Linked DNA regions of Homo sapiens: all the other regions are linked to region 4. Evidence: promoter capture Hi-C in 16 types of primary human blood cells and fetal thymus (Javierre and others, 2016). All regions are on one chromosome and are shown on one strand. Each heading gives the region's core, a stretch centred on a gene start or on the middle of the fragment in contact. The rest is flanking DNA. Distances are from core to core; before and after follow the strand shown. Region 1 holds the start of ASAH1 (N-acylsphingosine amidohydrolase 1). Region 2 holds the start of INTS10 (integrator complex subunit 10). Region 3 holds the start of C8orf58 (chromosome 8 open reading frame 58). Region 4 holds the start of LONRF1 (LON peptidase N-terminal domain and ring finger 1). Region 5 overlaps MCPH1-AS1 (MCPH1 antisense RNA 1). Region 6 overlaps MCPH1 (microcephalin 1). Region 7 overlaps ATP6V1B2 (ATPase H+ transporting V1 subunit B2).

Region 1 (3,883 bases), core at 816-3,315, 5.3 Mb after region 4:
ATGAGTTTACAAGTTTACTTTGGCAATTAATTACTAAGCCATTACGTTTCATCTTCGCACATCTTATGAAGTGGGTCAGATTTATTACGCAGAGCAGCCATCTCTCCCCTCTAGTTCCTTTCCTGCCAATCACACTTAGCCTACCGCAAGCTGTTTTCTGCCCCCAACACTGCTCCAGTCGAGGTGACCAATGACCTCCAGTTGCCCAACATCATAATACCACTGACATCTCAATAATATTCAACATAGTTAACCTGTCCCAGTCTCTTCCCTGAGCTTCCTGTTCCACTTACTCTCCTATTTTTTTGTTTTTGTTTTCTGTGACGAAGTTTCGCTCATTGTCCAGGCTGGAGTGCAATGGCAGGATCTTGGCTCACTGCAACCTCTCCCTCCCAGGTTCAAGCAATTCTCCCGCCTCAGCCTCCTGAGTAGCTGGGACTACAGGCGTGAGCCACTATGCCCAGCTAATTTTTGTATTTTTAGTAGAGACAGGGTTTCTCCATGTTGGCCAGGCTAGTCTCAAACTCCTGACCTCACGTGATCTGCCCACCTTGGCCTCCCAAAGTGCTGGGATTACAGGCATGAGCCACCGCGCCCGGCCTGTCCTGTTTTAACTTTGGCAATTTCTCCTCTTCTTGACACATACATGTGCAAGTTACTTAGCCTTTGCCTAGTTCTCTTTTCTTCTCTTTCTCTATCCTATTTCTAGGTAAGTTCATCTGCTCCAAGGGCTTCAAATATAATATCATTATGCCAGTGACTCTCAGTGTCTCTCTTCTGAGTGCCAGTCCGAGTGGCCTGCTGGATGCCTCTCTGCCACCTGAAATTTAACATACACCCCAAATGAAAACGATCCTCATTCTTTAGCCCCCAAGCTTTCCCCTCCCCATGTTTCCTGGAACGGATGCCACCATTCGCCCAGCGAAGCACTTCAGCAATGTGCAGGTCACGCTGACACCTCACTCCCTCATCCTCACCCAACGATTCCTTCAGCTCATTCGCCCTCCTGATTTTTTTCTAGAACATCTACTTCTCTCCCTCACCCCTGGCGCCACCATCCTTCAACGCACCCTGTTTTCTTTTCTGGACTAGTCTCCTCATATCTACCCTTGCTGACCTCCAATCCAGACTCATCTTTTTAAAGTGAAAATGTTATCTTGTCTAAAACCATCTAATGGCCTCCCATTGGCTGGTTCCAGATCCTCCCATTTTTTAGGATAAATTTCTGAATCCTTAATAAGAGTCTACAGAACCCTGGATGATGTCATCTGGCGCTATCTCTCCAGACATTTCTTGTGCCACTGTCTTCACCATCATCTCTTAATAGACTCCTAAAAAATTCAATAATGAAGAATAACTCAGGAGGACCTTCACATAGGAATATTGTGAAAAGCCTCAAAAACAAACACACAAAAAATCCTTACAGATGTTCTAAATCAAATGACTTGTTTCCAATTTAAAGCTGCTTCTCATTATTCATATTTATTGAAAGTACTTTTGAAATATCTTTTGTTACCATGAGGCTATAGTTTATCATATAATGACTCCAGTTGAAAAACTGCTTATTCTTCTCAGAGAATGAAGTCACTAAACTTCTGTAAGGTTCTAAAGGTCCTTCAGTGCATGGATCCCAGGATTTTCCAGGCCAGTAAAAAAAAATTAATGAGGCCTTGGCACAGGAGGGTCCAAATTTTTATTCTGCCAAATGGAGATGTTAAAACAAAACAAATTCCATGCACATAACATCTACCTCTGCCGTTATTTTTAAGAACACGTTTGCAACAATGAAAACTTGAAGTCCATACAATCAGAGTAAAGATTAACATTCTAAATTAATAATTTTAGTTTTGCATTCTTATTTTTCCAGTTTCATTGAAAACCTGTGAAAACAGCTTCCCAAAGTGACACCAGTGGCCAGACTAGACTTTGATAATCGCTGTTCTAGATAAGAACTATTATATCCATTGAGAGGTTGTTAATTCTTCTTCTGAAAATAGCTATCAAAATACTTTTGCTAGAATAAATAAAGCTATTGAGAAAGAAGAAAAAACAGCCTCCAACACCTGAAACTGCTCTGAGTCCCACAGCTATCTCTCAATATTATTACAAGCCGATCTGACACTCACAGCCAGGTAAGCTCTGTTTTCCTCCTGGACATCAACAATCCCACAGATACCTACGTCGGATAAGATTATTCTGAGACATGACACACCAAGACAAAGCAATGCCACTTGAAGATTTTCTCTAAGAACAGACAAAAACAAGGGCACCTGCAACGCACAAAACACCAAACATCCCCTTCTCGTGCTAAACAGAATGGCTGTTCCTTCTTTACTCAGTCAGAATTGCCCCACCTTCTAACAGCATTCTATCTACAGCAAAGCCCGGTTCCTCAGTCTTACCCCAAATCATGCAACCGAAGTTCAAATTCTGTAATGGGTTTTTTTCTATAACCTACCGTCCGTCGCTCATGGTGTGTGGTCTCCTTTGCCTCAAAGAACACTAAACCCAATTTGTTCAGCTTATGGTGTGTTCCTGGTGGTCTTTCAATGAAGGGCCCTGACAGTATCAAAGTATCAAAGTCTCTCCCAATTCCCATAAAACCAACTACCGTCAAGCAAATTAATTCCCTACCCACAATGGAGCAATTTTATTTTAAGGCCTTTAATCGTGTCCACATACATGTTCTGTGTATTTTCCTATTACAGGAAAAACTGTATATACTATTCTGGATTCTACTTTTATCTGCTGAACATTATATCAATTTTAATGGCTAAATCATATCCCACCATGATTTTAAAGAATTTCTCCTTACAGGTATAAAAGAAGACAATGCACATCTTGCTTCCACTTTCAATAACCTACCTAAACTATTCAAGACCATCACCATCTAGCCTCAGGCCAGATGCGCCAGGTTCCTACTTATCCGATTCTGTTGGCAAAGACAAACGCAGTCTGATTGCTTTATAAAGAAATGAATTATGAAAGAGTACTGGGCGTCAAGAGGCTCGGACGTTACGCATGTTCAGTAAACAACAGTGTAACCTCTGGCTAAATATTTTCTCACTCTAGGTCTACTTCCTCTTCTGTAAAATGAAAGAGTCACGCTCGTCCCTCACTGTCTCTTGCAGTTAGGAAGTCCGTAGCCCTGTGACTTGCTCGTGGGAAAGAGCCACGGGACAGGCGATCCCATGACTTGGGTGCAAAAGGCCACAGGGGGCCCTTTGGGGCCTGCTCTGGGCTGCTCGCACCGCCCAAGCTTGGGACCACTCAGCGTTTCCCACGGCCCTGCAGTATCCTGGGCTGAACTCCTGAACTTCTTCGGGAGAAAGCACCTGACCATCAGGCAGTCTGTCCTTGATTGAGTAATGCACACAGGTCCACCGGAACATTTTATTTAAACACTTCAAAATGCAAGGGCCTGGAACTGGTTATTCAAGTACACTCACTCAAATCTAAGAATGTGCGAATCACACCCAGGTATCCTGCAGAGACTAGGATTTCCTTTAAAGGAGTTCTAGTTGCAGGTAGCACCGAATCTACCGAGGACGGGGTTCGCCAGCCCGCTCTGCACCCACACCCCTGTGCACGAAACCACAGACCCCCGTAAAGAAGCTGCCCAGCACGAGGTGTTCCTTGTACCCGCTCGCGCCGCCACACCTGCGCCTCCATCCGCGCCCGCACCTGCACGCCCCTCTCTGCGCCTCGGCTCAAGCTCACTCACCGGCGGCGCGTGCTGCGCGACGGCACAGCTGACGGCGGCAGCCAGGAGGACTAAGGCGACGCAACTCCGGCCCGGCATCGCTCTAGCAGCCAACGCCACTCCCCGGACTCCAGCAGAGGCAAAGAAGAGCCGGCTGGGCCGGGGGCAGGCCACGCCCCC
Region 2 (3,898 bases), core at 45-2,544, 7.1 Mb after region 4:
AGGGGACCGGGCGGTAACGAGGAGCCAAGGGGAGGAGACTGCTCGCAAAACCCGGAAAAGCTTTCCCGATCCACTCTGCCAGCCTCCGTGCGCCTCCAGACATGCGCAGTAGCCTCCCCCGCGGTGGCGGCGGCGGCGGCGGTGGCTGCCGTGGCGGCTGAGAGTCCAGAGCCGGACGTTCCGGCCGCTTCGGGCTGGCGGCTGGAGAGCGCTCGGGTCATGTCTGCCCAGGGGGACTGCGAGTTCCTGGTGCAGCGAGCCCGGGAGTTGGTGCCGCAAGACCTGTGGGCAGCCAAGGCGTGGCTGATCACGGCCCGCAGCCTCTACCCGGCAGACTTTAACATCCAGGTGAGGTCCCGGCTGTGCATGCGGCCGCTCTGCGTGGAGGTGCGCGCTCCCGTCGCCCGGGCTGCCCTGGCCCAGAGCTGCGCCTGCCTGGGGGCTGCCGCCTCCTGCCCGGCCCCCTGCTTTCTCCCCTCCCACCCCCTCCTCTCTCCCCTCCCATCCTACACCTTGCTCCTACACCTTTCACCCGCCTTGCTCCTACACCTTCCAGGAGCCCTCTCCCCAGCACTTGAGAGACGGCCGATCCCGCTTGAGGTCGGGTGTGCTTAGGTCCCTGGGGCTCAGCGTGCCATCTGGCCTAGACAGCACATGATCGCCACTAGCAAAAGGCCATTCGCTCCTTCATTCATCATAATGGCAGCAGTTTGTTCAGGGCCTGCGACTTTGGAAATATTATCCTACTTAATCCTGGGAGCCTGAGATTGCAGGTGAACCCCAGGGTCACACTCTAAGCCCAATGGCAAGTCTGCCATGTATGTGGCGCTGTGTCACCAGGCGGAGCTTCACTCTCAGGCCCTCCCTTCCTGCAGGAGGGCCAACGAGCGATGCTGGATGAGCTGGGAGCCTTCTGGGCAGGGGTGAGTGACCAGGGTGCCTGATGTGTGTTGCAGTATGAGATGTACACCATCGAGCGGAATGCAGAGCGGACCGCCACCGCCGGGAGGCTGCTGTACGACATGTGAGTGGGACGCTTGACATCACTTTTACTGCACTGAATCTCTCCATGAGGTTTTGTTTCTCTCTGCAGAAGTGGGAGTTGGGGGAAGATCTTCAAGTTCATCTATATCTTCGATACCTAAAGCAAACCTAGTAAGGAGTCCAGGCCTGCCATAAATTGCTGACATGGCTTTTGCAGAAGAGTTTAATTATTATTCTTATGTTTTATCCTTGTTAAAACTTCTGTTTCATAATTTATTCTAGAAATAATATGTGCTCATTACAAAAATTCAAACACTACTTGTTATAGAGAACAAAAAGTGAAAGTGCATCCTAAACTGAACCAGAGTTAAGTTTTGTAGGCAGTATATCTATACATGTATGCATAATACATAAATAAGGTTTTGGGGGGAAGGGGTTACAAAAGTGAGAAGACCATACTACCTTTGCCCTGCAGCATGTTTCCTTTACTCACTCTCATGGACCCCTTCCCATATCAGTATGTAGAGATCCACTTCATTCCTTTTCATGCCTGTGTAGTATTTCGTAGACACTCTCTTCTTGGTAGACATTTAAATAGATAGTTTTAAATTATTTGAAATTATATTCAGTGTGTCAACAATTTTGTAGTCATATTTTGGTGTTTTTCTGTGGAATAGATTCTAAGACATTTTCATAGTCAAAGTTTATGCGCATTTGAAAATTTGATACGCTATGAAATTACTCTCCAAAATGTGCGATCCCAGTCTACATTACCACCAATGGTGTATAAAGAGTGTGTTTTCCCATACCCTTCCCAACACTGGATATTATTAGTCTCTTTTTAGTTCTTGTCACTGTGATAGGAGAAAATGGTATCTTGCTATTTTAAAAAAAAATTTGTACTACTCATACTGTTAATAAGATTCAGTATTGTTTCAACTGTTCTCTTTGGCTGTGTGTATTCTGTGATTTGCCTTTGCCTATTTTTTCTTTCAAATAGTTTGTTTTATTCTTGTTGACTTTTAGAAGCTCTTTCTATGTTATGGTTACTTGTCTTTTCACCTATAAAACCCACTAAAGACTTATGTGAGTACTCTCATTTTTATAAATCAAGTAATTCTTATTTTTACATTTTTATTTTGGTTTGTTTTGGCACGTCTAAGCATTCACTTGGAATAAAGGAAACTTTTTCACCAAATGCTAACGTTTTTTCTTTTGGATACTGTATAGACTTTGACATTTTAATTTAATGTATTTATTTTAAAAATAGGTTTGTGAATTTCCCAGACCAGCCGGTGGTGTGGAGAGAAATCAGCATTATTACATCAGCATTAAGGAACGATTCACAGGACAAACAAACCCAATTTTTAAGAAGTAAGAATAATGGTGTATAAGTTACCATTTCGGGAATACCAAATCATATATAGTAATTTCACACACAAAAAAGTCACACCTGGGGTATTGGTAACCATATGTATGTTTTATTCTTGGCAACCAAAGTCTATAATAATGTCACTCGGTTCCTTGACTTGCTTAGAACCCTTTAAGCTTCTTTAAAGGATATGGATTTATCAGTGAGACGAGGAATTAATTGTATATATTTTTAACAGGTTTTACAATAACCAGATAGCAGCTATAGATTAACCAGCTCTCCACAAAACAGGAGAGAAGCTTTTAGTAATTTAGAAGCTTTCTCTTTAAACTTCTGTATGTTGCTGTAGTCAATCAAAGATTTCAAACTCTAGATAAAATAGCAAGTAGATGCATAGGTCATTTGAACTTCAACAAGCACATGCTCTCTATCTCAACCTGCAACAGGCATTCTTGTGACCATTCACATACATCATTGTTTTTTGAATTTGATCAGTCTTGCAAATATTTTACCATTATTCAGCAAACATCCTGTGCCAGATACTATTGGCTCCAAAAGGCTGCCAGGTTGTAGGTGAAACTTAACTGCATTGATTTCACATGTAGTGTTTACTGTTCTGTACATGAAAATGCCTTACTCAGCACTGTTGCTGCAGTCTTTTCTGTCCGCAAGAAACTTTTAAAAGTGAAATATGTTTCGTACAGGTTTATTTGAAACTCTTCCTGGTCGGGTCCAGTGTGAAATGTTACTAAAGGTCACGGAACAATGCTTCAACACGTTAGAACGATCAGAAATGTTGCTTCTACTTTTGAGGCGCTTCCCTGAAACGGTGGTGCAGCATGGGGTGAGATTTGATTCTTCCCCTTCTTTTAATATAAAATACAATGGGTCATCAACAGATTCATCGGTATGGTGAGGAGCTACAAAGCAGAAGTTTCTGAAGAGTACTGGTTAAGATTGAACTGAAATAGAAGGTTCTTTGTTAGTAAAGCTAAAAGGACATTCTTTTCACCATATTTTGTAAGTTTCCAGGAGAAGCTGTTTTATCAGGAAAATCACCAAGCTCTGACAGTACTGTTTATTGCAATCCATATGGTAAAAAGTAATCTTTTTCCGTTGTATTCTACAATGTGCTTTTGAATTTAGCGTAGAGTTTATAGTCTTAACAGATGCGTTTTTCCTGTGCTTCTGCCCTATGGAGACTATTTTCATTCTATTCCTGCCCCTTTCCTTCATCTGTAATAATTATCGAGTGCTATTGGCAGGCATGGGAAAGTGCTAGGTATCTCCTATCTTCCTAAATCCCCTGAAGTAAATAGTATCCCACTTTACAGATGACGAAACTGAGCATTTTGTGTTTTAGTAACTTCCCATAGCCAGTGAGGTGTCAGGTTTCAAACCATTCACTCCATTCGTTCATACTCTGCGGCTTATTTCCCATGCCATTTTCTGGCGTCTGGCCCGGGTTAATCATTTCCATACCTGCTTGTGTTAGTCTCCTAGGGTTGCCATAACAAAGTACTACAAACTGGGTAGCTTAAA
Region 3 (3,620 bases), core at 1,018-3,517, 9.8 Mb after region 4:
GGGGGCATCCCCCTACTTTGGGTGTTGGGTCAGATCCTGCCCCCGTGCCCGCCAGGGCTCAGGTTCCTCTGAGCTGGTCCTGGGCCAGGACGCATCTGCATGGCGGTGGTGGGGAGGAGGGGTGCGCCATGGCCTGGAGGGGAGTGTGTGTTGGGGTGTGTGTGTGGAGGTTCTTTTGAGTCACACACAAAGCATTGTGCTGAGACACTGCATTCCTGCTGGCTGGGCTTCCTGTTTCCAGATGCATTCCTGTCCCAGAGTCACCACAGAGACTGTTTGGAATCCCGCCCCACATTCTCCAAATTCAGGGCGCGATCTGGCAAAGGCTCCCTCCCCCACCCTCTTACTTTGGAGGGAGTCTGGGCTCCCTCCTACCCAGGGAGGGCTGGCAGGGCTCTGGCACGGCCGGGGTGTGATTCCACACATCTTCTTGGTCTTGCATAAGGCAGTTCCTGGAGACCCAGCACTCTGGTTCTCTCTCTGCCTGTGAGAAGCGGAATGGGTACTGTCTAGGAGGACTGGGCAGGGTGGGGGCAACCCAGAGGACCCATGGCTAGCAGGGAAGGGCCTGGGCTTGAATGTGACTCTGTTGAGACATGGCCAGCAATTCTGGCACTTGGCTGTCATTCGGCTGGCCTGCGCAGAGATTGGCTGTGGGCCTCAGTTTCCCCATTTTATAAAGTTTTAAAATCTGATAGTTTGTGGCTCTCTGATAAAGGCTCCTGCAGTGGGTGTTTGGGGACTGGTTCCAGAAAGGAGCAAAGGGAAGGGGATGCACAGACTGTCTTACCCCTCCCGGTAAACAGCCACTTCCTTCCAGTGGCTCTGGCTCCAGCCTCTCCCCTCCCCTAGAGGTCCAGGTGCTAGTCTGCACGTCCTCCAGCTCCCTTATCTGCCTCCGGGGGATTTGGGTCCTGCTGGGATTTTTCCAGCCCTGCCCCCTCCCTCTGGAGGAGGTGCCTTCTTTAGAGGACACCAGCCCCAGTCTGGTCACCAGGCTCTCTCTCATCTTCAGTAGCTTCTTGGGCTCCTTTTAGGTTGGGGACTGAGGGGTGGAATCCCACGGGCCAAAGGCAGGGTGAGGTGGGAACAGGGGGACATTTACACTTTGGCCCAGTCTCCAGGCGGCTCCCCGCTGGCTCGCATCTTTCCAGACCTTGAGACCTACCCAGTCCCCAGCTTTAGGGAGCCCGGGATGAGAAAGAGGCAGGGGACCGGGAGGGGGTTCAGATCTAGCTGAGGACACACGCGCGTTCTGCAGTTGTAAAAGATTTCCCGGTGGGCAGGATCGTTTCCCCTCCCATCGCCCAGGTTTCCGAGCGGCCAAGAGACTGGCCCCCAAGCCACACTGCTAGGGAGCGCCGGGTGCCCGCGTCCTGGTCAGCGCTCTTCCCACCGCCAGCACGTGGGGCTCCCATTTCCTTCCTGGCTCTTGTCCGGTCCTCCAGCCAGCCCCGGCTCTAAGTCCGCGGCAGGAAGACGGACGCTGCGTGTGAACCCGCGGGGCCGGGCGGACCGGCGCCCCGAGCCAGACGGCGTCCCCAGGCGGGGGCCGGGTCCTCGCAGAACAGCTGATCGGGACCCTTATTTTGGCCACAGCCACAGTTGGGGGCGCCACCCAGTCCGTGCCTTCGACCTCGTTCTTGGCGACCCGGCCACCTGCGCCCCCCACCTGGCACCCTTGCCTTCCCTCCTCTCGCCCCTCCCCTCCCTCCTCTCGCCCCTCCCCTCTCCTCTCCCCTCCCCTCCCTCTCCTCTCCCCTCCCCTCCCTCTCCTCTCCCCTTTCCCTCTCCCCTCTCCTCTCCTCCCCTCTCCCCTCTCCTTTCCTCCCCTCTCCCCTCTCCCCTCCCTCTCCTCTGCCCACCCTCTCCTCGCCCCTCCCCTCTCCCCTCCCTCTCCCCTCCCCACCCTCTCCTCTCCCCTCCCCTCGCCCTCCTCTTCCTCGCCCCTCCCCTCCCTCTCCTCGCCCCTCCCCTCCCTCTCCTTTCCCCTCCCTCGCCTCGTTCCTCTCATCCCTCGTCTTGCCCCGCCCCTTTCTCCTCGCCCCCTTCTCCTCGCCCCTCCCCCTTCCCCTCGCCCCTCCCCTCCTCTCGCCGCTCCCCTACCTTGCCTCGCCCCTCCCCTCCCTCGTCTCGCCCCTCCCCTCTCTCCTCGCCCCTCCCTTCCTCGTCTCGCTCTTCCTCTCTCCTCCCCCTAGGCCACGCCCCCCACCGCCCCGCCCCCCGCCCCCCCAGCCCCGCTCCCCGCCCCCCCAGCCCCGCTGGGAGTGTCTGGGGGCCGCGCCCAGCTGGGTCGGGACGCGCTCCCTGAGCTGCCCGAGCTCCGCGGGGACTCGGGCCGGGATCCTCGGGCGGCTGCATTGGCCGGGGCCGGGGCCGGGAGCGGGCCATGATGGGCCGGCGGCGCGCCTTCGCCGTGGACGGCCGGGGTGAGTCACCCACCCCCAGGCTGGCCGGGCTCCCCCCTGCCCCGGAGCCGCTTCCCGCCCCCAAGCCGGGCACCCTCTCTCAGTTTCTTGCCCAGCCCCGCGCACCCCGCGGGCGGAGCCCGCGCCGCTGCGCCTCCCTCGCCGCCTCCCTGGAGGGGCGGTCATCAGGGGACGCCATGCAGGCTGGAACCCCTTTGGGCCCAGGCGTTAAACCAGCCACCGCCTCCGCCCCACTTCCTCCGGCTCCGCTTCCCTCGCCTTCCCGCTCCTTCTGAGGATGTGGGAATCCGCCCGCGCCCCAGCCCCCTCCGTGGCTGCGGACCCCTCTCCCACCCAGTGACCTCCTGGCCCACTTCCTTGCCCAGAGGGGCCTGGGTTGGCATTCGGCTCCCGCGTGCCCCGCAGCTCGTCCCCGCCCCCCTAGCCTGTTTCCCGTACCGTTCATTCCGCCAGGACGCCCCGTCGCCAGAGGGCCTGGCGGAGGTGACAGTGAGGGGGTGCTAATGCTGCCCCTTCGTCCCTTTCTTTCACTTCAGTTCTTTCATTTTAAACTTTTCATAAAATCTTCACTATTGCTCACTTACAACAAAAGCCCAAATCGGTTATAGCGGTGATTTTTATCACTCTCCCGGTGAGCTGCAGGAGAGACTTCACCTGGCATCCTGATGCCGCAGGGGCCCCCAGAGAGCAGGTTGGATCCCAGGCTTTCCTCTCTGTACCCTCTCCCCTCTCCCTGAAGCTGGATACAGTCCTACTCCCGCTTGGGGAGCAGCGGAAGAGCCTGTGGCTCCCTACTTCTGACTCGGGAGATCGTGGGCTGATCCTAGGTGGGAAGCGCAGGCGCAGGCCGTCTAAGGGATTGATGGATGTGGCCTGCCAGGGCTTTGCCTACCACACAGCTCAGAGCACGGGTTCCCTGTCGCTAACAACCGTTGCGAAGGGAATCCCATCCACACATCTCCCAGACAGCTGGGGCCATATCCGGGCTGCCCGTGGCTGTCCAGTGACCGCCCTTCCTCACTGCTCCGGGACACTTCTCCCTGGGGCAGTGCTGCCAGCCTTCAGGAATGCTGGGGGTGTTGGGGGTGGCCTGCCCAGCCTGACGCTGACTCTCCATGCAGATGGGGCTGGCGAGGGCCTGGCACGGGGCTGCATAGTGCCTGGAGTCACCAGCACCTACAGACGGATCCC
Region 4 (3,972 bases), core at 584-3,083:
TCCTTTTACGTAAGAGAAGCTTGAAACTGCCCCCTTTCAGCGCCTAAAACCACCTTAAGAAGAAAGTGCTAACCTAGGTTAGGAGGCCGAGGCTGCTTCTTGGAGACTAAGAAATGCACTCAAGACCTATAAGGCCTTTCCCCACAGCCTGATCCTAAGTGGAAAGGCCAGGAGAAGCGTGGCAGAGAACTATGGATCAGGCAGCCCCTCTCATCTTTACCATAAGCTAGGTGCACTGCAAAGTACATAGGAAATAAGCAGGATCTGAAACAGGCCAGCTGAAACTTTCAAGAGGAACCAGTTCAGGCATTTCCAGGTAGCAAGGGACCACCCTGGGCAGCTCCGCCCCAAGCCCCAAGCCCGGCGGCCTGCAGGGCCTCCCGGGGCCGGGCGCCCGCGCGGAGCTCCCGCCACGCCCACCGGACGTCACCCGTTACACAACGCCCCCCGCCCCCAGCTTATGCAATTCTGCCCTCCCGCGGTTCCCAATTGTCCCGGTGACTTTTGTGGGTGAGGAAGGGAGACGCCGCCTGCCCGGCCTAGTTGCCCTCGCGGGGGATTCTCTCCCCGCCCCGGCAGTCGTTTCCCCGCGGCGGGCCCGGCCCGAGAGCCAATTCCCGGAAAGCGCGCGGCAGGAAGCGAGCGGCCGCTCGGGATAGCCCAGCTACCACCCATCCCGCGCCGGGGCGGCCTCGGTCCAGGTCACCCACTCCGCGCCGGGAGCGCGCGCCCGACAGCCAGGCCGCGGCCGAGGGAACCCCGCGCCGAGCGCCCCTCCCCGCGCCGCGTCACAGTCGGCTCCCAGGGCGATCCCCATTATGACCGAAGCACCCCGGGGCGCCGCCCCCTCCCACACCCCCCAGCACCCCGAGACCCGACACGCCAGCGGCCCAGCGGCCCCGGGGAAGCAGAGGAGACTCTCGGGGCGCAGACAAGCTCCGGGTCCCCGGCCCTCGGGGCCAGGAGGGTGCGGTCGGCCCGGCCCCGCCGCATCCCCGCGCGGTCACCTGCTCGCAGCGCCTCGCAGGCGGCGGCCAGGGCCTCCCGGTAGCGCCCCTGGTGCAGTAGCTCCCCGAGCCTGCCGGCCGCCCGGGCCCGCTCGCGCTGGCCCGGAAACCACTTCTCGGCCAGGTGGTTGAGGACGACGCTGGTTCTGAAGTCTGAAGCGGCGATGGCGGCGGCCAGAGGCGGCGGCCGCGGGGCGGTCCCTTCAGCATCAGTGGCACTGGCGGTGGCGGGCGGCAGCCGGTCCCGGCAGAGGCGGCAGCGGGCGCGGAGTTCCCTCCGCAGGCAGCGGCGGCAGTAGCTGTGGCCACAGGGCACGGTCACCGGCTCGCTCAGGAAGCCCCGGCAGCCCAGGCATCTGAGGAGCCCGCCGGCGCCGCCGTCAGCGCCTGCAACCGGGGCCGCGCTCCAGCCCAGCCCGTGGCGGAGCCGGTAGTTGAACACCAGGCAGTCCACCAGGGCGCCCAGGCACTCGGGCCTGGCCGGGGCCCCGCGGCGCAGCGCCGCCGCGAACGCCTCCAGCGCGCCCTTCAGGTGGCCGCCCAGCGCCAGCAGCTCCCCGCGGCGGAGCAGCAGCTCCCAGCGCTCCGACTCCGCGGCCGCGCGCTCCAGCCGATGGCCGCTGCCGCCGCCCACTTCCCAGAACCGGCCTCGGCCCTGCGGCGCTGGGGCCATCTCCCGACTCCCTCCTGGGGAGGTCCTCGCCACCGCCGGAGAGGACATGGCCCGCGGAGGGCTGCGCCGCCGCCGCCCGCCGCCACGGTCCCGGAGCCTCCCGGGCGCGCGGCTCCGCACGCGGCCCGCGAGCAGGGGGGCGTGGCGCGCGGACACGGCGGGGCTGCGCGCGCCCGGGAAGCCCCGAGGGCGGGGCCTGGCGAGGGCGGGGCCGGGCTCGGCGACGGCGCCCGGGACTCCCCCACGCCGCCCGCGGCCGCGCTCCCGAGGAGCCAAGCGCTGGGCCCCGCCCCTTCCGAGCCCCCTCCGGGTGGGGGACGCAGGTCGGATGATTCCTCCGTCGGAGATCTAATTGGCTTCTCCGGAAAGGAGGGCTCGGCTCGTGACGGAACAAAGCCGGAAGGACCCCGGAGCTTCAGTCCCCGCTTGCCTGTCTGCCAACGCCGCCACCTGCGGTGGCCCTCGCCCCTGCCGGGGGTTGGGGGACGCTCCCCTGCCGCGCGGGACTCCGGGTCACCACCCCTCCCCCGACGCCCCCGCCCAGGCCGGACCTGCCCCAACTCCTGGCGGGCGGGGGTCTCCCCGCGTGGCCTCGCGCTTGTGCGGGTCTGCATTTTCATAGCTCTACGCCCATGTTCCAGGTGGGCGCGCCCAAGCAGGGGGCCTGGGAGCGCACCTTCGGCAGATGACTGGGACTCTTCGGTTCTAGAGGACTCAACTTTAAATATGAACAAAAAACCCACGTTCCTGGGGCGACTCCCTCCAGAGGGCAAGGAGTTTTTCCTGGTGCCAGGTGACTGCTTGCCCGTCTTGCTTAAAACTCATCGTGGGCCCACCTCGAGGGAGAAAGCCCACAGCTTCCTCAGGTGTCTCCACACCTCAAGCACTGCCTTACAGCTGGTTAAGGTCTATATTTGGCAGTTTTAAAAGAAAACACCAAGAAACATGTTTCACATGGCGGTCACCGTATTACTACAACCCAAGCTGGCTCTGCAGTTTTGCTGACAGAAGAAAATGATCGGGTTGATATATAATGGGTGCTATTTCCCTTAAACTTCACAGCAGCAAGTTTAAAGCTCTCAGCTGAAAATACAGATTTGATGATAGGGTATTAGATCGCTAATGTTGGAAGTCACTTAGGACTTTTAGTCCTTTTTCAAATGATTGGAAACACAGGGAAAGTTATTTGTCAAAAATCACACAGCTAATACAGATTTTAAGATCACGTCTATTCCACTACTACTACGTTAGACTAATATGTAATATTTAATAAAATATGTAATATTTCATAGAAATATATGAGATTTTCAAAGTAAAAGAAGTTGCTAATTGGAAAGTTCACCTGAGCATGCTATGTATGAAATTGGTAAACGTTTAATATTTCTCTTTATAAGGAACAGGCAATTAAGGCTAAAAAATGTTTTGAGTTCATGTGTTTTCACTACACAATCAACAAGTCGTGTAACGTCAGAAAAGACAGAGTTATATTACCCTAAAGGGAATGAATAAAAAAGAGGTGCCTGAGAAAAAGCCAAGCCTCCTGTTCCAACAGGATGCAGACAGAAACAAGTTCATTTATCACTCACATTGCACCTGAAGCAAATTGCAGCTAGATCCAAGGAGCACCTCCTAAGCATTTGGCATGGGAAGCATTGGGATTAAGTCATGAGCATAACCTTAAATCCAATCCTAACCCCTAAATTACTACCTTAACAAGCAGAACAGTGACTTTCAGCTGATGTCCACATACTCCCTTGAGACTTGAAATCACAAACAAATATCCATGTGTACACGCACATTCATTTTTGTAACGCATCCTTGTTCTTAATGGCATGTTGCAAAATTTACAACAGTAAATATGTAATCAATGTGTTCATGTTTATTACAAGGAGCATAGTAAATTAATAAACACTCATAAACTTCTTTTCAAATATAAAGTCAGGTTCTATTATGGGATTTCTGCCAAAAGTACAATATGTGGTTCAGAAAATAATGTGAAGTATTATTTGTCCTTTGGAGTTCCTTTTCCTAATAAATATGACAACCACATCTGATTCTGATGTGAAATAAAATGGCACAATTATGATAATGTGCGGGAGAAAAAAATGGGACCGTAGGAGGAATCTTACCGTGTTCTCCTTGGCATTTGTGAATGGTTATAATTCATGTTTGCTGGTTTATGCATTTACATAACTTGTTCTCATTTATGTAACTTATTTATGTAAGAGGCTGTACTGCCGCTGTGGCCTTTGTGTGCTGCATAACTTCCCTTTGAATCAGGAAGTCTAGGCA
Region 5 (3,612 bases), core at 1,089-3,588, 6.1 Mb before region 4:
TTGTCATTTTTGGCTGAAGTATATAAAGAAAATCCAGCCTTATATAGATTTGTAATTGGAAAAAGGGAGGGTTTTTTTGGGGGGTGCAGGGGAACCGGGTCTCACTCTGTCCTCCAGGCTGGAGTACAGTGGTGTGATCTCAGCTCACTGCAACCTCCTGGGCTCAGGGGACCCTCCTACCTTAGCCTCCTGAGTAGCTAGATGAGACTACGGGTATGCACCACCACACATGGCTAATTTTTGTATTTTTTGTGGTGAAACATGGGGTTTCGTCATGTTACCTAAGGTGGTCTCAAACTCCTGGGTTCAAACAATCTGCCCACTTTGGCCTCACACAGTGCTGCGATTATAGGCATGAGCTACCTGTAGTGCCCAGCCTGGAAGGGGTATTTTTAAAGCCTTTTCAGATAATGTGACTATTCTTCTTTCATATTACACTAAAACTCAGGAACTGGTAATTGCTTAAAGGTTAGTAGCCATGTAAAGTCTGAAATTATATCAATGAAATTTTTGTAGTTAAATTAAAACCTATTGGTATATCTTGTGCTTGCAAGAGCCATTTACCCATTCATCATTTTAAAATATCATGCATTATTTAAAAAACATTGGTTTGGTTTACTGCATTGTGCCAACCTTCCAAATTCTGACACATTGCATCATACAGTATTGAAAAATCACAATGGTTGCTATTACCACAGTCCTCATGAAAAAGGTCTTCAAGAACTGAGAAGGTGTCAAGCTCATAGAGCAATATAAGTTTTCCAAGATTCAAGTTTTCACTTGAAAGCTTCAATTTTATTGTTGGCAACATTACCCACTGTTTTCTTTTGAAGTGAATTTGTTTTTGAAAAAAGTGTCTGCCAGACTCACCACTTTATCTGCTAGTTATTCTTTCAAGCAAAAGTGATGTTCCACGAAAAAAGTAGCTCTCAGCTTGCAGCTCAGAGGTTGTTTCCTACAGGGGAGCTATTGAGCTTTGGTATGCTTCCCATGTGCTTCATGCAAGTTCCATTTAGTCACATGGAGTATTCATAAGATGTGTACTCCACAGTTGACATTTAATAAAATTGACTTTTTTTTTTTTTTTTTTTTTTTGCTATCACATTCAGGCTATTCTTAAGCGTTTTTCTGCCATGATCACATTGTGATGAAGAACATGATGGTCACTAGTAGGTAACTTTCTGTGTCATTGCCTTACTCTCAGTGAGGTGCTAGTGGATTTACCTACCCCTGCTTTTGCATCACCACTGTAAATCTAATAGTGAAAAGGCAAATGATGTCTCAGTATCACTGTGAAAACATTTTTCCCTTGGACCAGCTGAAAGCATCTTGAGGAGCCTGAAGGCTTCAAGGTCCACACGTCAAAAAAACACAGCCCTAGACTGATGGTGGCCCATTATGGGTGGGGTCAGCTTCCCCCTAGATCACATGGGTTCTGTTGGGAGGGGTGGCTTGTCTGCATGACCATCTTAGTCACCTCAAGGAGGGAAGGGGCAAAGGATTGCCAAGCATCTACTGCGTAAGTAGATAGCTGTAACCTCTGGGTAAGAAAGTGGGATTGGGTGCGGCATGAGGGAAATGTCCACATTTCATTCAATATTCAAAACATAGGATTGCTTACACTTTTTATAACAGGAATGCCTTCTTGTTTTATCTGTGCAAACAGCAAAATAAAAGCATGAATGGGAACTGACCAAAGTTTTATTTAGTTTTTACAGAAATAGGATCATAGTGCATGTATTATCCAGCAACTTGCTTTGTCACCTAGTGTCCTGGAGATCTGTCCACGACTACGCATTTAGTGCTACTTATTCCTGTCCAACTGCTGCATACCATTTCACTTATCAGTACTGTGTATCCACAAAGCTATTCTGCTACTGATGTGCACTTAGGTAGATGGACTGATTAAAAGGGTATCTGTCTGTATTAGGCTGTTCTTGCATTGCTATAAAGAAATACCTGAGACTGGGTAATTTATAAAGAAAAGTGGTTTAATTGGCTCACATTTTGGCTGGCTGTACAGGAAGCATAGTGCTGGCATCTGCTCAGCTTCTGGGGAGGCCTCAGGAAACTTACAATCATGGTGAAAGGAAAAGGGAGAGCAGGAGCAAGAGTGAGTGGGGAGGTGCTACGTGGTTTTCAACCACCAGATCTCGCGAGAATCACTCACTATCCTGAGGACAGTGCCAAGAGGGACGGTGATACCTATTCATGAGAAAACTGCCCCTGTGATCCAATCGCCTGGCACCAGGCCCCACCTCCAACATTGGGGGTTAAGACTGATAATGAGATTTGGGTGGGGACACAGATCCAAACCATATGGCTGTCCATTCTTAGAACATACTGTCAAATTTCCTTCCAAGAACACTGTACATGAGGGATTCGTTTTTCTCTCCATACATGGTCACCACCAAAGGCTAAGCTACCATCATCCTTTCTAGCTGGGAGTCTAGCTATAGTCTCCAAACTGTTTAAAATATACTCTCCACAATGCCTGAACAACTTTTAAAAAGATCAAATATAAGCATGTCACTCCTCTCCTTAAAATCTCAGTAGCTTCCCTGTCCTTTGGGATAAATTCTAAAATCCTTATGTGTCCCCCAAGACCCTGCTGTCATCTGGTTCTTGCCTATCTTTCCAGACTCAATCCCTAGCATCCTTGTCTCCTTTCCTTACCCCAATTATTTCTGTAAAAACAATCTTCAAATGGAGGCATGCGTATCCCTGAGAATATGGACACGTGGTCATGAGGAGTTTCAAGGGATTCAGTTTTCAGATCCCAACTCTTCTAAAAGTGATCTGTCTGAGGACTCCTGCAGTCCAGGCCCACCTGGCATTTCATAATGGCTCCTCTCCCCCCTGGCACATCCTAAATCTTACTACATTGTGCTGCCCTGCTGAGGTAGAAAGGTGTAATAAACCTTAGGACACCAACAGAGATAACTTATTTAAGAGATGCATTTCTTGTAACTTTTTTTTTTTTTTGCCTACAATTCCTTATCAGATTTTGTGAAACACATTGATTAAACTGTGTATTGCTAATAATAGTAACAGTTCAATCCAGAAGAAAATTTGCTTCTTAGGACCCTAATGATACAGTCTGATCAGTAAAAAACTTTGAAGGATAGAGCATATTCAATTATGATAGAATCCTGTGGTAGAAGTGAAATAAAAATATTTTCAGGGAGAAAAATAATCAATGCAAAATTTTCAACTGGTCAAAGGCTTAAGTATTTTTGAAATGAATGATGGGGTGGATATTAAGTCACTATAATATTTATAACTCACTGCATACATTTAAAAATTTTCTGTAATCACTTTATTTTCAAAACATCATTCATAACTCATCAGAACTTCATAACTACTTAAATTTATAATTAAAAGCCTTTTTAAATTTATCATTAAAAGCCCCCCTCTCCCCACCTTTTTTTTTCTTTGAGATGGACTCTTTCTCTTTTGCCCAGGCTGGATTGCAGTGACGCGATCATGGCTCATAGCAGCTTTGAACTCCTGGGCTCAAGCAATCCTCCCAACTCAGCCTCCTGAGTAGCTGGGGCTACAGGCATGCACAATCACACCCAGCTAATTAAAAAAATATATTTGTAGAGATGG
Region 6 (4,121 bases), core at 631-3,130, 6.3 Mb before region 4:
GCTAGGTTAGGGTGGAGCAAGAGAGCTGCTGTGGGTATAAAACTTAAGAGGCGCTCACCACCAGGCAAAGAGTGGGTGCTACTGAATACCCTAAGAGCCTTGTTTGACCTCCCTAATGCCTGTCTTGAGTAAGAGGTCAGTGGAGAGGAATCCGAATATAGGAGCAGGGCCTGCACTGCAGGAGGGGAGACATGCCCACTGTAATACACTGGAATGTAGGAACCCGAGGGAGTCTGCATGTTGCACATGCCTAACATTTACTTGGGATGAGGAGGAACTACTGTGAATAAGAAAAAAGCCGTTAGACAAGTGAGTTGACAAGGTGGTTTGAGGGTAGCATTAAGATCTTAGATCTTTTAGAACTTTTTGGTTTCACCTTTTATTTCAAAAATTGGCAAACAGTTCAAAGAATAGTGAATACAGATCAATAGTCGTTAACATCGTAAGATTTGGATATTTGTAGTACTCGTAATCCGGGATTATCTTAAGCCAATTTCAGGATTTGAGATGATTTAAAACCAGACTACAGGCCTGTGAGGGTCATTATAACTTCTGATTCACCCTTAATCTAGATGCAGCTCTTTGGGTCTCAGCGCAAGGTGTAGGGGTTTTACCAGACCCCCTTGTCTCTTTGAGGCTTCTCAATTTTCGTCCTGTTTAGTGTGTACTAAATTTGATAAAAGCCTTGTGGGAAGATGGTCTCAAATGCTAGACTCATCTCTCTAGGTGTCAGTCTTAATCTAGAATCTCAGCCCGGTAATTCTTAATTGCCTTGATAGCTCCCATGGACTTGATGGGGGTGTGGAAATTGAGAGAGAGAGAGAGTTATAAAAGTAATACATATTTATTGTTTAAAAAGACTAACGGGCAGTGCCATGAAATTCACAATGAAAAGAAAGAGAAACCAGCAACGCTTTGCAGTACATTTCCTTTTCCATTTTTCAAAGACAGCTACTTTCAAATCATCTGTTTCTTTTGGTATTTACCTTCATATTTCCAAGCATTGTACATATATTACTTCAGTATAATTGAATGCTATAAAAATTATGCAGATGAGTTCTGCTTCTGGAAAGGATACATAAAAGGTAAAATTTTTGACACCATGAGTGTCTGAGCATGCCTTTATTATACTGTTACCTTTGACTAATATTTTAGCTGAGTGTAAAATGCTAGCACAAATATTATTTTTCCTTGAAGGTATTTCCCATTGTTTTCTCAATTCCAGACTGCTGTTGATAAGACTGATTCAGTTGTCACTTATTGTTTGCATGTGATGTGTCTCTATCCTCTTCACCTTGATTACCCACTCTTTTAATATTTTTCCCTTTCGCCAACCATGCTGGAATTCTGTGATAAGCTTGGTGTAGTGCTGTTTTCGTTCTTGTGCTGGGCCTTTGTGGGGGATTCTTTTGATCTAGAATGCATATCCTTTAGTTTGAGAAACTTTTCTTTGATTATTTCTTTAATAATATTTTCTCCATTTTGTGTATTCCTGTATTCTTTAACTTCTGTTGATTGGCTGTTGGATCTCCTGGTCTGAGCTTCTGATGTTCTTGCCTTTTGTCTCCTGTTGTCCGTCTTCTGGTTCTTCTCTTCTACTACCAGTGAGCTTTACTCAACTTCATTGTCTGATATTTCTGTAGAAAATTTTTTTACTTATGTCATCTTTTCTTAATTTCCAAGAGCTCTTTAGGATCCTATTAAAAAATAATCTTCTGATCATGTTGCGTGAATACAGTATCTTTTTTTTTTTTTTTTTTGGAGATGGAGTCTTGCTGTGTTACCCAGGCTGGAGTGCAATGGCACAATCTTGGCTCACTGTAACCGCCACCTCCCGGGTTGAAGTGATTCTCCTGCCTCAGCCTCCCGAGTTGCTGAGACTACAGGCACGAACCTCCACGCTTGGCTAATTTTTGTATTTTTAGTAGAGACAGGGTTTTTCCATGTTGGCCAGGCTAGTCTTAAATTTCTGACCTCATGATCCACCTGCCTCGGCCTCCCAAAGTTCTGGGATTACAGGTGTGAACCACCACACCCAGTTTCCTTTGGTTTTAATTAGCTGAATTTTTCCAACTTTTTGAATGATTGCACTTATTTTCAACCTTCTTACTTTGTATTTATGCATTTAAGATTACAGGCGTCCGCCACCTTGCACCCGGATAATTTTTGTATTTTTAGTAGAGACAAGGTTTCACCAGGTTGGCTAGGCTGGTCTCAAACTGCTGACCTCAGGTGATCCACCTGCCTCGGCCTCCCAAAGTGCTGGGATTACAGGCATGAGCCACCATGCCCAGCCATGGATACAGTATCTTAAGATATGAGGTATTTTTAATTTTGGTTAAATATGTGTTCTGTTTTCTCTGTTGCCTCTGAATTTCATTTGGTTTTATTTTTTTGATGTAGAAAGCTTTTCTGAAATGTCCATTATTATCTGACTCTTTCCATCTTTAAAAATGTGGTGCCTTCTCATGGCCACATTTTCTCTTCTGTCCTCTTTATCCTTGCAGGGCTCCAACTCTATTCTTTCAGTAACACTTCAGAGGGTTTTTAGAGGGAGTAGATGTGAACTTGTGTGTATGATTCACCGTTGTAACTGGAACAGATATGTTTTAAGCAGCGTTATGCATTCCTTTGAGTGTTTCTCTGTCAGATGTTGAGAAACAGAATTGCTGGGGTAGAGGTTTTTTGATCAGTTGTAGTTAAGTTGTGAATGAACAGTAATGTACATTTTGTTTTCTGCATTTTGTCTACAGGTTTCAAAAACTTTTAACAAACAAGTAACTCACGTTATCTTCAAAGATGGCTACCAGAGCACTTGGGACAAAGCTCAGAAGAGAGGCGTAAAGCTCGTTTCGGTGCTCTGGGTGGAAAAGTAAGCAGTTTCTCTCTTACTTTTTTTCCTTAAGTATCTAGTATTGAAAATGTGTGGAGATATTTTTCACAGATCGCAGAACCAGATAAAGTTTGATTTTCATCTTTTCTCTGCCTCTTACCTCACCTAGTAATTTGAAATCCTCCAGCCTCAATTTCTGTGGTTCAAAAATGGTCATGCTATAATACCTAACTCTGCCTAGGGGGAAAAGGAGCCTGCAGGTCCTGAAGCTGGGTATGCAAGGTGGACTTAGGAAGCAAGAGGGAATGTGATGAAGCAGATTGTGTTAGTCAGCAAGCGCTGCTGTAACAAAGGACCACAGAATGGGTCGCTTGAGCAACAGAAAAGGACTTTCTCACAACTCTGGAGGCAGGAAGTCCAGTATCAAGTTGTCAACAGGGTTGGTATCTTCTTTTTTTTTTGAGACAAAGTCTTGCTCTGTCATCCAAGCTAGAGTGCAGTAGCTGGATCTTGGGTCACTGCAGCCTCAGCCTCCTAGGCTCAAGTGATTCTTATGCCTCAGCCTCCCAAGTAGCTGGGATTCATCTCAACCTTTGCCTCCTGGGCTCAAGTGATTCTCCTGCTTCTGCCTCCCGAGTAGCTGGGATTACAGGCACGCACCACCATGCCTGGCTAATTTTTGCATTTTTGGTAGAGACGGGGTTTTATCATGTTGGCCAGGCTGGTTTCAAACTTCTGACCTCAGGTGATCCACCTGCCTCGGCCTCCCAAAGTGCTAGGATTACAGGTGTGAGCCACCGTGCGCGGCCCACACAGTTTTGATTACAGTAAATTTGTAGTAAGTTTTGAAATTGGGAAGTACGAGTCCTGTAACTTGTTTTTCATTTTCAAGATTGTTTGGCTATTTTGATTTGAGTTCCTTGCTAAGATTGTTTGGCTGTCTTGATTGGGTTCCTTGCATTTCTATATGAATTTTATGATCAGTGTGTCAATTTATTCAAAAACAAAAAAGGCAGCTGGGATTTGGTAGGATTGTATTGAATCTCTAATTAGGGAAGTGTTCATAATATTTAATCTTTCAGTCCATGAAAATGGGATGTGTTTCTTTTTCAGGTCTCAAATTTCCTTCAGTGACACTTTCTAGTTTTCAGTGTACAAGTTTTTTACCCCCTAGGTTAAATTTATTCCTAACTTTTTTGTTCATTTTCATGTGAATGAAATTGTTTTCTTAATTTTTTTAAGTTGTTAGCTGTTAGTGTATAGAAATGCAGGTGATTGTTGTATGTTG
Region 7 (4,166 bases), core at 1,548-4,047, 7.4 Mb after region 4:
CGCTCTGTCACCCAGGCTGGAGTGCAGAGTGGCGCGATCTAGGCTCGCTGCAACCTCCGCCTTCCAGATTCGAGCAATTCTCCTGCGTCAGCCTTTCGAGTAGCTGGGACTACGGGCGCACGCCGCCATGCCCGGCTAATTTTTTGTATTTTAGTAGAGACGGGATTTCACCGTGTTTCCCAGGCTGGTGGCGAACTCCTGAGCTCAGGCAATCCGCCTACCTAGGCCTCCCAAAGTGCTGGGATAACAGGCATGAGCCACCACGCCCAGCCAACCTCTTAATTTTTGTAAATTGATTGTAATTTTTTGTGAATTGATTGATGTTATCATTTAAGGGGACATGTAATTATAGTTATTGTGTGTGTGTGTGTGTGTGTGTGTTGAGACAGGGTCTCACTCTGTTGCCTAGGCTGGAGTGCAGTGGTGTGAGCTCAGGTCACTGCAACCTCCACATCTCAGGCTCAAGCGATCCTCCCACCTCAGCCTCTCAAGTATCTGGGACTACAGACGGACACCACTACGTCCAGCTAATTTTTTTTAATTTTTATTTTTTATTTTTGGTAGAGATGGGATTTCCCCATGTTGCCCAGGCTGGTCTACAACTCCTGAGCTCAAGAGATCCGCCCGCCATGGCCTCTCAAAGTGCTGGGATTACAGGTGTGAGCTGCTGTGCCCAGCCTAAAGCTTCACACTGAACCTTTAGAAGTCAGAGATCCTTTTTGTGTCCCCACTGCCTAGCACAGTGCCTGACACATAGAATGTGCCTTGTAATTGTGTAACTTGCATTTAAACTCAAAAAGCTTTGTTTTTTGAATGAAGAAATGGAGTAATGTTGACAGTTCCACTGTACAAATTAGATCCTTTTAAAAAATAGCTTCAAGATTATAGGACTTTTAAAAGAAATGGAAAACATATTCAGGCTTGAAATTAGGAAATTATCTTGAGCATTTTAGTTGAATTTCTGAAGTCACAAGGAATGAAAACTTGATTTTCTCTTAAAAGAAAAGATTCAACAACATACATAGAGCTTTCGGGTGCTATGTATTTTGAATTTGGTCATCTCCATTTTTCTTGAGACCCTAGATCAACTGGCCTTAAGTTTCTTATATCATAAAGCAGAGCCAGCCCTGCAAAAAGTCAAAATAGGAATCTTCTCCTTGCTTTTTTCCTAGAACCTCTTCTTCAGGTGCTCACTGCTCATCATGCAGATCTCTACTCTTCTTGTACAAGGGAAGATGATTGCTCTGGGTTTTTGTTTTGCTAATAAGGCAGAGGCTAAAAGACTAGGACACTTATTATGCAATGGCTGTCAACTTTTTCTGAGTATTTCGTAATCATTAAATGGTGTTACTAGTGTTGAGCAATATCCTATCCTGCAGGAGGAAGAGGATGTCATCTGATAAAATATGTGCTCCTTAAAACCCGTGTAGATTTTGGGTTTTAGATGTTACTTCATAAATACTTGTCTGGCTCATATGATAGTTCAGAATCAAAGCCAAGACATTTTGGTTGTAAAATATGTTAAGAAGGTAATATAAGCATATATCTTCTGTGTTGTCAGAAGTTCTGATTATCCCCCATTCACACACCTACGGGCTCAAATTCTTTTTCATTTGGAGAGGAGTGGTCAATATGTAGGTAAATAGAAATATTTAGGTAATTTACAAATGGGTTTTTTCCTGTTTTGAAGGGCAACTTAATGTCTTTGACAGCCATAGTTTAAACTGGTATCTCTGTTTTGGGCTGTTAATGGTAATGGTGAGGAAGGCTGGATAAATCTAGAGATAAAAGGTAGTGTTTGTTATCATTCTGCTTGGTTTTCTTTGCAGATAGTTTTAGTACCATGGAGAAGAGCTGTAGTTTTATACAAATTGTCTTTTTGTCCCCACTTGTAGTCCAAGTGCTAGAAGCTGTATGATCTCCATACTTTTTAATTGTACTGAAGACTAAGGCCAGAAATATTATAAGGGTCATAGAGTACCAATCCTAAGATTAAAGAAAAACAAAACAGTTAGAAGCCTGGCTCCCCCATTTAAAAACAAACTTATCAGGGCCTTAGTTTCCTTAGGGTGCATCAGCCTTGCCTACTGTCTTAGCCATTTTCTGCTCCTTTTAACAGAAAACCTGAAACTGGGTAATTTATAAAGAAAGGGAATTTATTTCTTAAAGTTCTGGAGTCTGGGAAGGCCAAAGTGGAGGGGCCGCATCTGGTGAGAGCCTTCTTTCTGGTGGGACTTGAAAGAGTCCCAGGGTGGTTCAGGGCATCACATGGTGAGGGGGCTGAGAATGCAGGGGCACTAGCTCAGGTCTCTCTTCCTTTTGTAAAGCCACCAGTTACCTTCACATGATAATTCATTAACCCATGAATGGATTCATCCATTCATAAGAGCAGAGCCCTCATGACCCATTCCCCTCTTAGAGGCCTCACCTGTCAGTACTGCCACATTGGGGATGAAGTTTATTGCCTGGTGCGTTAAAAAGTAAAAACCTGTTTTGCATACCTAAAATTGCAGGCTTGTGAAATTGTTTTGGGTGGTATCGCTTCATAATTCTTACAAGATACCATACCACAAAAAATGAACCAGTTCAGTTTTAGAATTTGGGCTGTAGTAGAGTCAAAGAATAAGTGGCTTTGGAGCTAGAGTGTACACATTCAGATCCTTGGGCTGGTTGCTTGTGTCCTTGGGCAAGACACAATAATTTCTCTGAGAATAATTTTTCTCTTCTAAAACTTAGAATAATGATAGCTAACTCTGTCTGTTATGGAGATTAAATGAGAATTCCTGAAAAGTACTTATTAAATGTATGATAGTGTTATCAATTAACTTGCAAGGTTACTTACTAACTTTTTAAAAGGCTGGATACGTTGTTCCAAATTTAGAGACTTTTGATGAAGTAGAATCTTGTCTTCTGTAGTAGATGTCAATTTGAGTCACTGTTTCCAGGAAAAGCTATGACTAGTGTTTCTTTTTCTTGGTCATACTTTTGCTCGTGACTGGCAAAATTTCATAGTTTGGAATGAGCTTGAATTTTAAACATGAGATTCTAAAGCAGTATTGTTGTAGAAATCAGACCTATAAAGGAGATACAATCTTGTTGAAAAAATAAAGAGAATTTTAAGAACCTGGTGTATTTTACTGATGTTGCATTTTATTCAAAACAGTTAATCATAAATCTCAATACCATATCCCCTCCCTCACCCCAGCTGTTTGGTAAAGGTTTTGGAAAGGTCTACGTTTCTGCATTTCTGAAAACTGGTTTCAAGAAAACATATTTCTAATGTAGCTCACTTTCCATTTCCACATGGCAATTTTAGAAAGCCATTGTAAAAAAAATGCTGGGAGTCTTTAAAATGAGAACAATGAAGAAATCTTTTAAAGGGTTGGAATTATGTTTTTTAAGAGTATTCAATCATTTTAAAACAGTAGGGATGGTTTTCATAAAAGTGGCAGAAAATGTGGCAAATGGGGTCTTTCTAGTAATCTAGGGGAATGATTAATCCTTTCACATGACCATCCATCCAAGTAGCTTGCTTTTTATCTAAAGTGGGGAAAAAAAAATACAGTTCAGTTGGGGGGCCTCTATTGAGACAGTTGCAGTACAATTACTGATGTATTCAAGCAAATATGTGATGTCTGGATTTAAACGTCCTGTTAGCAGGAAAGATGGAAGCCCTGACAGTGCTGTCTGCTCTGTCCCAGCATTTTTACCAGGGCTCTGGCTTCCCCGCCTGAGGCTGAAGGAATTGTAATTTTAAATTCCAAAGCCACTTGAGTGGACAGACTGGTTAGTAAATGGTTTCCTCATGCTTGGGAGTCCACATCTGTGCCAGGAATCTCTGTGCAAGCTCATTATAAGACCTCAAAAGAAATCAAGCAAGTGAAAAATTCCCAGTTGCTAGACAGCTTCATGTTAATTATTTTAGGCCTTATAGTAAATTTTCTTCAAAACTTTAGTTCATGTATTTTTTTTCAGTTGTTCTGCTTATGAAATTTAGTGAATTTTGTAGGTGTCTGGTAGAATTACTCTCCCCTGAGTGTTCTTATACCTGATCCCCATTTCACTTGCCATGCAGGTGTGATAGGTGAGGGCTTTGGGTAGGACCTGCTGGGGTAGAATTAGCTGTTTATTCCTAGGGCGCACTTTGCAGTGGAAAACAACAGTCT

What was found. The method cuts DNA at HindIII sites, captures the fragments that hold promoters and counts their contacts. A CHiCAGO score of 5 or more calls a contact.
Region 1: a fragment that was not itself captured here is called in contact with the fragment with the promoter of LONRF1 in region 4 in 3 of 17 cell types (total B cells, naive B cells and M0 macrophages); the score reaches 9.4 in total B cells.
Region 2: a contact is called between a fragment that was not itself captured here and the fragment with the promoter of LONRF1 in region 4, in 1 of 17 cell types (total B cells). The highest score is 6.7, in total B cells.
Region 3: the fragment with the promoter of C8orf58 here is called in contact with the fragment with the promoter of LONRF1 in region 4 in 1 of 17 cell types (neutrophils); the score reaches 6.4 in neutrophils.
Region 5: a fragment that was not itself captured here is called in contact with the fragment with the promoter of LONRF1 in region 4 in 3 of 17 cell types (activated CD4 T cells, total CD4 T cells and total CD8 T cells); the score reaches 9.0 in activated CD4 T cells.
Region 6: a contact is called between a fragment that was not itself captured here and the fragment with the promoter of LONRF1 in region 4, in 1 of 17 cell types (naive CD8 T cells). The highest score is 5.1, in naive CD8 T cells.
Region 7: a contact is called between a fragment that was not itself captured here and the fragment with the promoter of LONRF1 in region 4, in 1 of 17 cell types (total B cells). The highest score is 9.5, in total B cells.

The regions. Positions count from the first base shown.
Region 1 is chr8:18,080,257-18,084,139 of GRCh38, forward strand. ASAH1 (N-acylsphingosine amidohydrolase 1) reads right to left here and starts at 3,851. Exons shown (of 14, transcript NM_177924.5): 1 at 3,725-3,851. The coding sequence starts at 3,802. RefSeq lists an enhancer at 3,308-3,417 and a silencer at 3,768-3,883. The HindIII fragment of the contact is 2,384 bases long and covers 874-3,257 here.
Region 2 is chr8:19,817,319-19,821,216 of GRCh38, forward strand. INTS10 (integrator complex subunit 10) reads left to right here and starts at 98. Exons shown (of 17, transcript NM_018142.4): 1 at 98-348; 2 at 957-1,024; 3 at 2,255-2,358; 4 at 3,061-3,200. The coding sequence starts at 220. RefSeq lists enhancers at 1-48, 89-148, 649-738, 949-1,038 and a silencer at 339-468. The HindIII fragment of the contact is 2,472 bases long and covers 59-2,530 here.
Region 3 is chr8:22,597,332-22,600,951 of GRCh38, forward strand. C8orf58 (chromosome 8 open reading frame 58) reads left to right here and starts at 2,268. Exons shown (of 7, transcript NM_001013842.3): 1 at 2,268-2,429; 2 at 3,551-3,620. The coding sequence starts at 2,390. It also overlaps a transcript of PDLIM2 not described here. RefSeq lists enhancers at 1-518, 519-1,266 and silencers at 1,653-1,712, 2,078-2,177, 2,208-2,667. The HindIII fragment of the contact is 7,578 bases long and covers 1-3,620 here.
Region 4 is chr8:12,753,693-12,757,664 of GRCh38, forward strand. LONRF1 (LON peptidase N-terminal domain and ring finger 1) reads right to left here and starts at 1,834. Exons shown (of 12, transcript NM_152271.5): 1 at 1,008-1,834. The coding sequence starts at 1,728. RefSeq lists silencers at 233-472, 613-1,152, 1,049-1,239, 1,243-1,582, 1,663-2,332 and 1 more and enhancers at 1,308-2,127, 3,781-3,840. The HindIII fragment of the contact is 11,195 bases long and covers 18-3,972 here.
Region 5 is chr8:6,702,375-6,705,986 of GRCh38, forward strand. The region is part of intron 1 of MCPH1-AS1 (MCPH1 antisense RNA 1); the gene reads right to left. Among named protein-coding and RNA genes, the nearest start is that of MCPH1-AS1, 4.0 kb to the right of the region's middle. The HindIII fragment of the contact is 3,107 bases long and covers 786-3,612 here.
Region 6 is chr8:6,412,012-6,416,132 of GRCh38, forward strand. MCPH1 (microcephalin 1) reads left to right here. Exons shown (of 14, transcript NM_024596.5): 3 at 2,754-2,872. Among named protein-coding and RNA genes, the nearest start is that of MCPH1, 7.4 kb to the left of the region's middle. The HindIII fragment of the contact is 1,050 bases long and covers 1,356-2,405 here.
Region 7 is chr8:20,199,639-20,203,804 of GRCh38, forward strand. The region is part of intron 1 of ATP6V1B2 (ATPase H+ transporting V1 subunit B2); the gene reads left to right. Among named protein-coding and RNA genes, the nearest start is that of ATP6V1B2, 4.3 kb to the left of the region's middle. The HindIII fragment of the contact is 3,998 bases long and covers 799-4,166 here.